3 separate regions of the Homo sapiens genome follow, and regions 1 and 2 are each linked to region 3. Evidence: promoter capture Hi-C in human tissues and cell types (Jung and others, 2019). All regions are on one chromosome and are shown on one strand. The core of a region is centred on a gene start or on the middle of the fragment in contact, and the rest is flanking DNA. Distances in the headings are between cores, read along the strand shown.

Region 1 (3,865 bases), core at 349-2,848, 300 kb before region 3:
CAGGATGGTCTCAATCTCCTGACCTCATGATCCGCCCGCCTTGGCCTCCCAAAGTGCTGGGATTACAGGCGTGAGCCACCCGCCTTGGCCTCCCAAAGTGCTGAGATTACAGGCGTGAGCCACCACGCCCGGCCTGGCGTTGTTAAATGACGTGAATATAAAACAAATTTTTAGGTGTGCTTATCCAACTATATAAATTCATAGCAATATTTTGATAGTATGTATCAGGGGTCCCCAACCTTTTTGGCACTGGGGACTGGTTTCATGGAAGACAATTTTTCCATGGACCGGGGGTGGGGGGATGGTTTGGCGATGATTAAAGAGCATTAGATTTATTATGCACTTTATTTCTATTATGATTACATTGTAATATATAATGAAAAAATTATACAACTCACCATAATGTAGAATCAGTGGGAGGCTTGAGCTTGTTTTTCTGCAACTAGATGGTCCCATCTGGGAGTGACAGGAGTCAGTGACAGATCGTCAGGCATTAATTCTCATAAGGAGCACACAACCTAGATCCCTCACATACACAGTTCACAATAGGGTTTGTGCTCCTATAAGGATCTAATGCTGCCACTGATCTGACAGGAGCTGGAGCTCAGGTGGTAATGCAAGTGATGGGGACCAGCTGTAAATACAGATGAAGCTTCACTTGCTCATCTGCTGCTCACCTCCTGCCATGTGGCCCTTTCTTTAAAATTTCATAATTATCAGATCACTGAGGAAATAAAGGTTCCTGTGTGTGGCCCAGGGGTTGGGGACTCCTGATATATATGATACAGTTTCATATTACACGCACAATTTTTGGAGGTGGAAAATTTTAACTATATTATTTATACGCTTTTGGGGGATGACAAACCTTTTGTGCAGAATAAAATGTGTAGCCAGTGTTTCTGGCAGTTGTAATCATTATCAATGTATTTTGTCTTTGAAAATTTGTAGAACCACCCCCCCTCTGCAATTTCTTCCTTCAACATAACATGATTTGTTTCATATTATGTATTTCTATCATGTCCCTATTTTATAATATATGTTCACATTAATTGCAGTTCCCTTCTCTTGGAGACATTTGTCTTTCTCATGTGGGTTCCTTCACTTGGTTGTATTGTCATTTTCATTGATGATGCATCTGCTAATTAATATTTCTTTGAATGCCTGCCCTTTTGTTCTTGATTTTTGCAGTTCAGCTCTATTTTTTATTTCGGCTCTATTTATTGGTATTTCTTTCTAGCTTCTATTGGCCTGTGACCTTCTGTGACTTATTTATAATATTACATGTTTATGAAATTGACAGTCCAGGCCGGGCGCGGTGGCTCACGCCTGTAATCCCAGCAGTTGGGGAGGCCGAGGCAGGCTGATTGTCTGAGCTCAGGAGTTCGAAACCAGCCTGGGCAACATGATGAAAACCCATCTCTACTAAAATACGAAAAATTAGCCGGGCTTGGCGGCATGCGCCTGTAGTCCCAGCTACTCAGGAGGCTGAAGCAGGAGAATCACTTGAACTTGGGAGGTGAAGGTTGCAGTGAGCCAAGATGACGCCACTGCACTCCAACCTGGGCAACAGAGTGAGACTCCATCCCCCCCCTAAAAGAAAGAAAGAAATTTACAGTCCATTCTCTGCCATCAGTAATAATTAATATGTAAATGTTTACTTAAAATGATTTAGAAAATAGTTATTTCTTATGGCTAATATATGTCATAGTTTTCTAAATTCATAGCAAGGTCTTGGATTATTAGAACATGTTACCTACAGGTATATATAAAATTTTAGTTATTATTTATTCTGGTAACATATACAAAATATAAATTTTACCATCTTAACTATTATAAAGTATACAGTTCTGTGGCATTAAGCACATTCACATTGTGCCACAACTATAAAGTTTTTTTTTTTTTATTATACTTTAAGTTTTAGGGTACATGTGCACATTGTGCAGGTTAGTTACATATGTATACATGTGCCATTTCTTAATCCTTCTGATTTTCCTTTCTCCCTTAGTACATCTTTTCTGTTTTATCAACTTTCCTTTTCTTTTAGATGCTGAAGAGTTTCTGGCAGAAGGTTTGCGGAATGAGAACCTCAGCGCTGTTGCAAGGGATCACAGAGACCATATTCTACGGGGCTTTCAGCAAATCAAAGCCAGGTTTGTATAAACTGGTTCCATTAATCTTCTTCATAAGCTTTAAAACAATTTATAATCAGTAAAATAAAGTCACAAGGTAAGACATACCTATCATAGTTCTTTATACTTGGCAGAAACTTAATAAATATTTACTGAATTGAACTGGAGGCAGGCAAGCATAGTTAGTGTAGTTTACCAAAATAAAAATGTTTTGATAATTATGTATGTATCTTGAGGTAATTATTCTGCTTTTAGCTTTGGATTTTTATGTTAGCCTTTATTGACCACTTTTGCATTTAACTAAAAAAATGGTGAAAGCTAAACATTTATGCTTGTCCAAATTATTAACGAGAAAGTGTTAGGCAGTATGAGATAATGTTCATTATGATTTTTGGTACTGATTTTACTTCCACATCTCCTTACCTCATAGAAAACTTAAATGAGACTTATCAAGTTGATTCTTTGACTACATTGGGATGTTTTATTCCTGGACTGGGTTGAAATATTATGTCATTTTTTAAAAATAAGAGGCCCTGATGTAATTTGTGCATTTTAGAATGTGAGCATCTGAGAGATGCAAACACTTGCTTGGGGAAAAAATAAAAATTTTCCTTTATAATATATTTTCTGACCACCTATTGCTTGAAATGGGTAACTGAATGAGAACAAGGGATAAGTGAGTGTTCCTTTAGCCTTTTCAAACCTGGTGGCAATGTGATTCAGAATGTTTAAACTGAATATTCTTAGAAAAGGAAGAGCATCTGCAGGGTTATGGTTGGGATTTAATTTGCGTGGCTGACAGTTCTTAGTATCTGCTCTAAAAACCTCATTGAAACTCCATAGAAGCAGAGAATTTTATCCTTCGGAAGGGCACAGCCAGAATCTATTCCATTCAGGAATGTGAGAGAACCTCATGAGATGCCCTGCTGGATCTTAATCGATCTTTCCTGCTGGCTAATTAAGCATCACTTTTACTCAGCAACTGGGGACTGTGTAATTATCAGCCTGGGTTGCCCTGAATAATTGAAACAAACAGAATGCAAAAGATGGGAGTTTTTTGAAAAAGTGGGAATATCTATAATTTTTGGTAGGTTGAAAGAGTGTTTAAAACAAAGTTCTCCATAATGTTATTTTATTAATAGATAAGTTTAGGCTTAGTTACATACCTGGAGACTTAGTAACCTATAGTTTTTTTTAATTTCACAAGTTTGCCTTTGTATTTTATGATTACTCTAAGGGTGGCTTGCGGAATAAAGGTGGAATTATTTTAAATTGGGAGAGGAATGCCCTAAATATAATGGTGTATTTGGTGATTCTGTTGGTATAAATCTCTGATAAGGAATGCAAAAATACTTTTACTGCAGCTGTGGGTACAAATACACAATGAGGAGGAATTCTTTCCTGTATTTGTACCACAGCATTGAGAAAGGACTAAATTTCAATCTTAAGTTGGTAATAAAAGGCAAATTACGGTAACTCATTACTGTCAGCTGCATATTATTATACTTCTTAATCCTCTTTTAAAATACATACACACATGCACACACATGCATGAACACACACGCAAGCTGAATTTGTCATGGGATAGAGTCAGTTTCTTGTTCTCAAATTCTTGTTCTCAAAGAACTTTGTGTGTGGTTTGTGGGGTAGACATTCAGGAAATCATCAGCGGGAACTTTAGGAAATATCTGCATTGTTGATGGGAGCTTTCTGTTCATTGACTTGTTGCAAGAAAG
Region 2 (3,723 bases), core at 869-3,368, 270 kb before region 3:
ATGACTGTAATCCCAGCTACTCGGGAGGCTGAGGCAGGAGAATCACTTGAACCTGGGAGGCGGAGGTTGCGGTGAGCCAAGACTGCACCATTACACTCCAGCCTGGGCAACAAGAGCAAAACTCCGTCTCAAAAATGAATAAATAAATAAAATAACACATGTAAAACATATACCTAGCACAGGGCCAGACGTGGTGGCTCATGCCTGTAATCCCAGCACTTTGGGAGGCTGAGGTGGGTAAATCACTTGAGGCAAGGAGCTCAAGACCAACCTTGCCAACATGGGAAAACCCCATCTCTACTAAAAGATAAAAAATTAACTGGGTATGGTGGCACACGTTTGTAATCCTAGCTACTCAGGAGGCTGAGGTACGAGAATCGCGTGAACCCAGGAGGCAGAGGTTGCAGTGAATGGAGATTGTGCACTGCACTCCAGCCTGGGTGACAGAGTGAGACTCTGTCTCAAAAAAATATATATGATGTATATGCATATGTATATGTGTATATCTAGCACAATGCCTAACATGTAAGTGCTAATAAATGTTAATCATTTTTTTATAATTGGGAAATAGAATTATTTTTCCTTTCTTTTTTTCTTTTTCTTTTCTTTTTTTTTTTGAGACAGGGTCTTGCTGTGTTACCCAGGCTGGAGTGCAGTGGTATGATCATGGCTCACTGCTGCCTCAACCTCACAGGCTCAAGGGATCCTCCCACTTCAGCCTCCCAAGTAGCTGGGACTACAGGCATGCATGCACCACCATGCCTGGCTTTTTTTTTTTTTTTTTTTTTTTTTTTTTTTTGTGGAGACAAGGTTTCACCATGTTACCCATGGCTGGTCCCGAACTCCTGGATCCAAGCAACCTACCTGCCTTGGCCTCCCAAAGTGCTGGGATTACAGGTGTGAGCCACCACACCTGACCAGTATTTCTAATAATATGAGGATAGCTACAGTTGTTTGTCTGACCTGTTTCATCAGGATCTATCTAATTAGCTGACTGAGGGAATAAAGCTCTGAGTACTTTAATCTCAATAACTATGTTCTTTGGTTAGCTCCATGGCCAAGAATCTGATATTCTCTCCCTTGCAATCTGTTGATTTAGATTCAGTAGCCCTATTTTCAGCAGAAGCCTGACAATGTTTTCTGTGAATTGTTTATTTTTTACAATTTCAACTTTTATTTTGGACACAGGGGGTACATGTGCAGGTTTGTTACAGGGTATATAGTGTGATGCTGAAGCTTGGGATACAAATGATCCCATCACCCAAATAGTGAGCATAGTACCCAATAATTTTTCAACTCCTACCCCTCTTTCTCTTTCCCCATCTCTATTAGTCCCTAGTATCTATTGCTCACACCTTTATGTTCATAAGTACCTAATGTTTAGCTCCCGCTTATAAGTGAGAACATGCAGTATTTGGTTTTCTGTTTCTGCATTAATTTGCTTAGAATAATGGCCTCCAGCTGCATCCATCTTGTTGAAAAGGACGTGATTTCATTGTTTATTATGGCTGCATCATAGTCCATGGTGTATATATGCCATATTTAAAAAAATCTAATCCACTGTTGATGGACACCTAGGTTGATTCCATGTCTTTGCTATTATGAATAGCACTGTGATGAACCTACAAGTGCATATGTCTTTTTGGTAGAATGATTTATTTTCTTTTGGATATATACCCAGTAATGGGATTACGGGGTTGAATGGTAGTTCTGTTTTAAGTTCTTTGATAAATCTCCAAACTGCTTTCCACAGCAGCTAAACTAATTTACATTCCCACCAACAATGTATAAGTGTTCCTTTTCTCCACAGCCTCACCAGCACCTGTTGTTTCTTGACTTCTTAATAATAACCATTCTGGCCAGGTGTGGTGGCTCACGCTTGTAATCCGAGCACTTTGGGTGGCTGAGGCGGGCTTGAGCTCAGCAGTTTGAGACCAGCCTAGGGCAACATTGAGAAACCTTGTCTCTACAAAAAATACAATAATTAGCCAGGTGTGATGGCACGTGCTGCTCCCAGCTACTGGGAGGCTGAGGTGGGGAGGATTGCTTGAGCCCAGGAAGTTGAGGCTGCAGTAAGCCATGATCACGCCACAGCACTCCAGCATAGGTGACAGGGCGAGACCCTGTTTCAAAAAAATATAATAATAATGATAGCCATTCTGATTGGTGTGAGATGGTTTTGATTTGCATTTCTCTGATGATTAGTAATGTTGAGCATTTTAATATATTCGTTGGCCACTTGTGTGTCTTCTCTTAAGAAGTGTCTGTTCATGCTTTTTGCAAACTTTTTAATGGCGTTGTTTTTTACTTGTCCGATTAAGTTCTTTATAGACTCTGTGAATTTGGGGTGGCAACCTAGAACTGTGTGTTTGCAGTATGAAAGATACTGAAATATATCTGTAGACGAATCATATCTATTATAGTCATCATTTCATCCATAGTACCTGGGCAAAGGGCTTGTCATAGAAGACATTCAATAAATATTGAATTGGTTGACTGAGTCACTGAATTATTTTAGAATAGTAAAATATCTTTAGAGAAAGACTCAGTTAATTTTGATGATTGTTTTAATTGTTAGATTATATTTTCAAGACTTTCCTCCTTAGTTTCTCATTAGAGGTCCTGTTCTGAAACTGATTGTTGGTGGTGGAAACTTGTCCACTTGTCCATTAGCTTTCTTATGATGGGTAAGTTATTTAATCCTTGATGCCTCAGTTTTCTTATTTAGAAAATGGGCATAATAATAGGGTTAGAGTGTGAGGAAATGGGTTAATGTAAGAAAAGTGCTTAGAGCAACATCCAACAAAATGTTCAATAAATCTTAGCATTGTTATTAGCACTACTGTTATTACTACTACAGTGACTGCTGCTTATCAAGATTCCCTCAATACTGTGGGTTCAATTTATTTGTACCTTTCTCCAAACTAAAGTTCATTTTTTATTTTTTACTTTTTTTTTTTTTTGAGAGAGGGTCTCACTCTGTTGCCCAGGCTGGAGTGCAGTGGTGCAATCATGGCTCACTGTAGCCTCAACCTCGCAGGCTCATGCAATCCTCCCACCTCAGCCTCCTCAGTAACTGGGACTGCAGGTGCACACCACCACACCCAGCTAATCTTTGTACTTTTTGTAGAGACAGGGTTTTGCCATGTTGTCTAGGCTGGACTCAAACTCCAGGGCTCAAGCAATATACCCACCTTGGCCTCTCTTAGTGCTTGGATTACAGGTGTGAGCCACTGCATCTGACCTAAAGTTCAGTTAAAACATCTTTATTTTATATTTATTTATTTATTTATTTATTTATTTATTTTGAGATGGAGTCTGTCTCTGTTGCCAAGGCTGGAGTGCATGGCGCGATCTCGGCTCACTGCAACCTCTGCCTCCTGAGTTCAAGTGATCCTCCTGCCTCCGACTCCCAAGTAGCTGAGATTACAGGCATGCGCCACTACGCCCAGCTAATTTTTTTGTATTTTTAGTAGAAACAGGGTTTCACCATGTTGGTCAGGCTGCTCTTGAACTTATGACCTCCGAAAGTGCTGGGATTACAGGCGCAAGCCACAGTGCCTGGCCAAAACATCTTTAATTTGAAAACACAAATAGCATACTCTACAATTTAATACTAAAATTTTAAGACTGTTCTGTAGCTTAGAGAAAATATTGTGAAATTTTATTCTTCCATTTTCACTTTTGGAGGCATAAGTGAAGATGGGTTTATTTTTACTGAAT
Region 3 (3,982 bases), core at 962-3,461:
CATCATCAGTCAAAAACAGTACACTACAGGAGGAAGTGAGGAGATGCTTGCTTCTCACTTGCTTCTTCCTAGAAACCCAGCCCAAATGTTTCAGGAAGAATTGCTCTCTTTGTGTCCGGAGTTGATTCCTTCCGGTGGGTTTGTGGTCTCCCTGACTTAAACAATGAAGCCGCGGACCTTCATGGTGTTAAAAACAGCTCTTAAAGCTGGCAGGGACCCAAAGAGTGAGCAGCAGCAAGATTTGTTGTGAAGAGCGAAAGAACGCGAAAGAACAAGGCTTCCATAGCGTGGAAACCGACCTGAGCAGGTTGCTGCTGCGGGCTAACAGGAATGGGTGGGGGGCAGGGGGCCAGCTTTTACACCCTTGTTTGTCCCTGCCCATTTGCTATTTCTGTCCTATCAGAGTGCCCTTTTTTCAATCCTCCCTGTGATTGGCTACTTTTAGATTCCTGCATTTTACAGAGCGCTGATTGGTGCATTTTGCAGAGTGCTGATTGGTGCATTTTACAATCCTCTTGCTAGCTACAGAGGGCTGATTGGTGTGTTTTTACAGAGTGCTGATTGGTATATTTTACAATCCCCTTGCTAGGTATAGAGCGCTGATTGGTGCATTTCACAATCCTCTTGTAAGACAGAAAAGTTCTCCAAGTCCCCACTCGACCCAGGAAGTCCAGCTGGCTTCACCTCTCATCTTCTCTGTGCTTTCTTGAAGCCCTTTTAACTAAACTCTATTATGATATTGCTGGGCTGGGTTTTTCTTACATGACAGTTCTCCAGAGCCGTGAACAGTGCCTGCATCAGCAAAACTGTCTTATAAATGCAAACTCCTGCCCTGAACAGTGCCTGCATCAGCAAAACTGTCTTATAAATGCAAACTCTTGCCTTTTGGGGTAGAGTGCAATAGAGTTTCCCTCTTCCTCCTGATTAGAAGGATACTTTAAAATAAAAAAATAAAACTTTAGTTATATTGTGGCTTAAAAACATGTTTTTTTCCTAATTGTGTGTTTCCTTGGGATGATTGGGTGAAAGGTGCTGACGGAGATTAATGACACTGAAAAAGGTGAGCACAACTTACAATGAAAAAGAGGACATTTTTGTGGCGCAGCCAGTGAAAAGGGGGAAATTCAGGAAGCTATGAGAGGCCTATGGGGGGACCTAACCTACTCTAGGGAATCAGGGAAGACCTCAAAGGGGAAGTAATCTTAACACTGAACAGTATTTTTTTTTTTAGACGAAGTTTCGCTCTTGTTGCCCAGGCTGGAGTGCAATGGCGCGATCTCGGCTCACTGTAACCTCCACCTCCTGGGTTCAAGCGATTCTCCTCCCTCAGCCTCCCGAGTAGCTGGCACTACAGGCGCCCGCCACGACGCCCAGCTAATTTTTGTATTTTAGTAGAGATGGGGTTTCACCATGTTGGCCAGGCTGGTCTTGAAACCCTGACCTCAAGTGATCCACCCACCTCCGCCTCCCCAAGTGTTGGGATTATAGGCTTGAGCCACCGTGCCGGCGTGAGTAGGAATTTTACAGAGATTTGAGGAGGCAGAGATTGAGGACTAAGAAATCATTGGAAATTTGAGGCAGCGGCGATATGATAAAGTTCTGGTGAAGAATCTAAGATTCAAAAATTTTGAGGATGTGAATTACAGAACTGTCCAGAAGTGGTTGATTTTTTGGGGGCCAAGCATCAGGGGGCTCGCTTATAAAAATCATATGTTCTAATTTTTTTTTTTTTTTTTTTTTGAGATGGAGTCTCGCTCCATCGCCCAGGCTGGATCGCAGTGGCTGGATCTCGGCTCACTGCAAGCTCCGCCTCCCAAGTTCAAGCAATTCTTGTCTCAGCCTCCTGAGTAGCTGGGACTACAGGCACCTGCCACCACGCTCGGCTAATTTTTGCATTTTTAGTAGAGACAGGGTTTCACCTTGTTGGTAAGACTGGTCTCGAACCCCTGACCTCAGGTGATCCACCCGCCTCGGCCTCCCAAAGTGCTGGGATGACAGGCGTGAGCGACTGCCCCTGGCCCATATGTTCTAATATTCTAGGTTACAACGCTCTACGCTGCAATCTCTCCACCGTTACAGTTTAAAAACTATAAGTCCCTACCACCCTCGCCTACTGTGCGTGCGCGGCGCGCGGCGCTTCGGGCCTTGTAGTCTTGGACAGACCCCCGAGGCCCATGGTGCCGTGCGGCGGGTCGTTGCGCCTGCGCGGTGCGAGCGGCGGGCAGCGCAGACTGCGAGGCTCTTTTGTTCGGCTGAGGGGAGGGCCGTTGGCCGGGGCCTGCGGTACGCCGCTTCAGTGAGGGACGCCACTGCGGCCACCCGGCTTGCTGCCTTCCTGGGCGCCACTCCCCCAGGCGACCCGACGCGACGCGCCAGCAGCGCAGCACCGATTCCTCTCGGGCTCTTGGGCGCTGCTCTGAGGTGAGGAGCCCGCTGGAGGCGGGAGAGCTGGGGGAGGGGGCGCGGCGGCGGCGGCGGCGGGAGCCCTGCGTGAGGGAACGCGCTTTCGAGGCGGAGGTTAGGAGCGGGGAGCGCGCCCGGGTCCAGCGTCCTGCTTCTCCGCTTCCCGCGCTGAGCTCTTCGCCTGTCGCTGAGGCGTCGGTGCCAGCTGCGTGAAGGATGGAGAGGGCGGGGCGCGAATCCTGAGCCAGAGACTGAGTGCTTGGGGGTGGGCCGAGCACTTGGGGGCCGCTCTTCGGGGCCCGGGTGGTCTGGAACAATGTTGCTTGGCTGGGCGGCTGCGGGATAGGGCGGAAGGGGACAGGCTTGAGGCTTGGATAGGCGTGAGGAGGCGCATACGACCGCACAACCCGAGGTTTGTAACTGTATTCGGAAGACGCCGGGTCCGGCTGGGACTGCCAGAGGAACCTGGCTTTGCAGGACTACGGAGGAGTAACGTCGAGTGAATTGGAAGAGGGCCCAGGGCCGCACAAGGTGTGCTGATTGGAGGAGGAGATGTGTGGAATAAATTGGGAAAGGGGACACGGAGGGGGAGGGGCAGGCGTTTGCTGGGCCTGACTCTGGAAGGGGAGGAGCTGTTAGGATAAGTAGGGCGGAGATCCCGAGAATATTTCTATAAGGTATGTAAGAAAAAAGGGGAAAGCAGGCCGCCCTTGCATCCTGATGGGTCCTTACAGTGGGGAGGCTGTAAGAATAATGTGCGAAGAAAGGATGGAATACGCTTTTTTCAGTTTTCCAGGTTTCCTACTACCTTCACTCCATGATTCCTTTGGGGAGTTAAAAAAGTCCAAGTGCAGTTCTTGCTTTGATTCAAAATTAGTTCCGTACGTTTTTGTGTGGGATCGTAACTGGTCTCACAAAGGTGATGAAATTGTAAAAATATGTAGATGAGTTAATAGTTGAGGAACGGCGTGAGGTAGTGAGAGATTGTGAGATCGTGTGAGGTGCGAGAAATTGGGAGACATAGGAAAATTATGTGAGATTGTGAGGTAATATTTGTTTCGTGGGCCCTTCTGTTTTTAGCCAGCTTTTCCTTGTTGGAAAATTTGAATAGAGTGAGCTATATTTTACCTCTTTTTTTTTTTTTTTTTGAGAAGAGTCTTCCTCTGTTGCCCAGGCTGGAGTGCAGTGGTGCGATCTTGGCTCACTGCAACCTCCACCTCCCGGATTCATGCGATTCTCTTGCCTCAGCCTCCCGACTAGCTGGGATTACAGGCACACGCCACCACGCCCGGCTAATTTTTGTATTTTTAGTAGAGACGGGGTTTCACCGTACTGGTCACGCTGGTCTCGAACTCCTGACCTCGTGATCCTCCCGCGTCGGCCTCCCAAAGTGCTGGGATTATAGGCGTGAGCCACTGCGCCTGGCCATATTTTACCTCTTTTTCAAAGTTTCAAATGAGGGTTTTTCATAAATTGGTGTTACATTTAGACGTGTTGGTTTAACGCAATTGAGGTGGAATTTACAAAAAGTTCAGCTATAATCAGTTATATACTAGAACCCCTAGCCCAGGGTAAAGTA

What was found. The method cuts DNA at HindIII sites, captures the fragments that hold promoters and counts their contacts. A contact is called where the count stands out against the background at its distance.
Region 1: a fragment that was not itself captured here is called in contact with the fragment with the promoter of CBX1 in region 3 in 2 of the 25 tissues and cell types used here (IMR-90 fibroblasts and mesenchymal stem cells).
Region 2: a fragment that was not itself captured here is called in contact with the fragment with the promoter of CBX1 in region 3 in 1 of the 25 tissues and cell types used here (mesendoderm cells).

The regions. Positions count from the first base shown.
Region 1 is chr17:48,394,965-48,398,829 of GRCh38, reverse strand. It overlaps SKAP1 (src kinase associated phosphoprotein 1), which reads left to right. Exons shown (of 13, transcript NM_003726.4): 2 at 2,045-2,150. Among named protein-coding and RNA genes, the nearest start is that of SKAP1, 33 kb to the left of the region's middle. The HindIII fragment of the contact is 3,124 bases long and covers 37-3,160 here.
Region 2 is chr17:48,368,731-48,372,453 of GRCh38, reverse strand. All of the region lies in intron 2 of SKAP1 (src kinase associated phosphoprotein 1), which reads left to right. Among named protein-coding and RNA genes, the nearest start is that of SKAP1, 60 kb to the left of the region's middle. The HindIII fragment of the contact is 6,067 bases long and covers 1-3,723 here.
Region 3 is chr17:48,099,707-48,103,688 of GRCh38, reverse strand. It overlaps CBX1 (chromobox 1), which reads left to right and starts at 2,211. Exons shown (of 5, transcript NM_001127228.2): 1 at 2,211-2,421. RefSeq lists enhancers at 1,793-2,052, 1,879-2,478 and a silencer at 2,423-2,472. The HindIII fragment of the contact is 10,755 bases long and covers 1-3,982 here.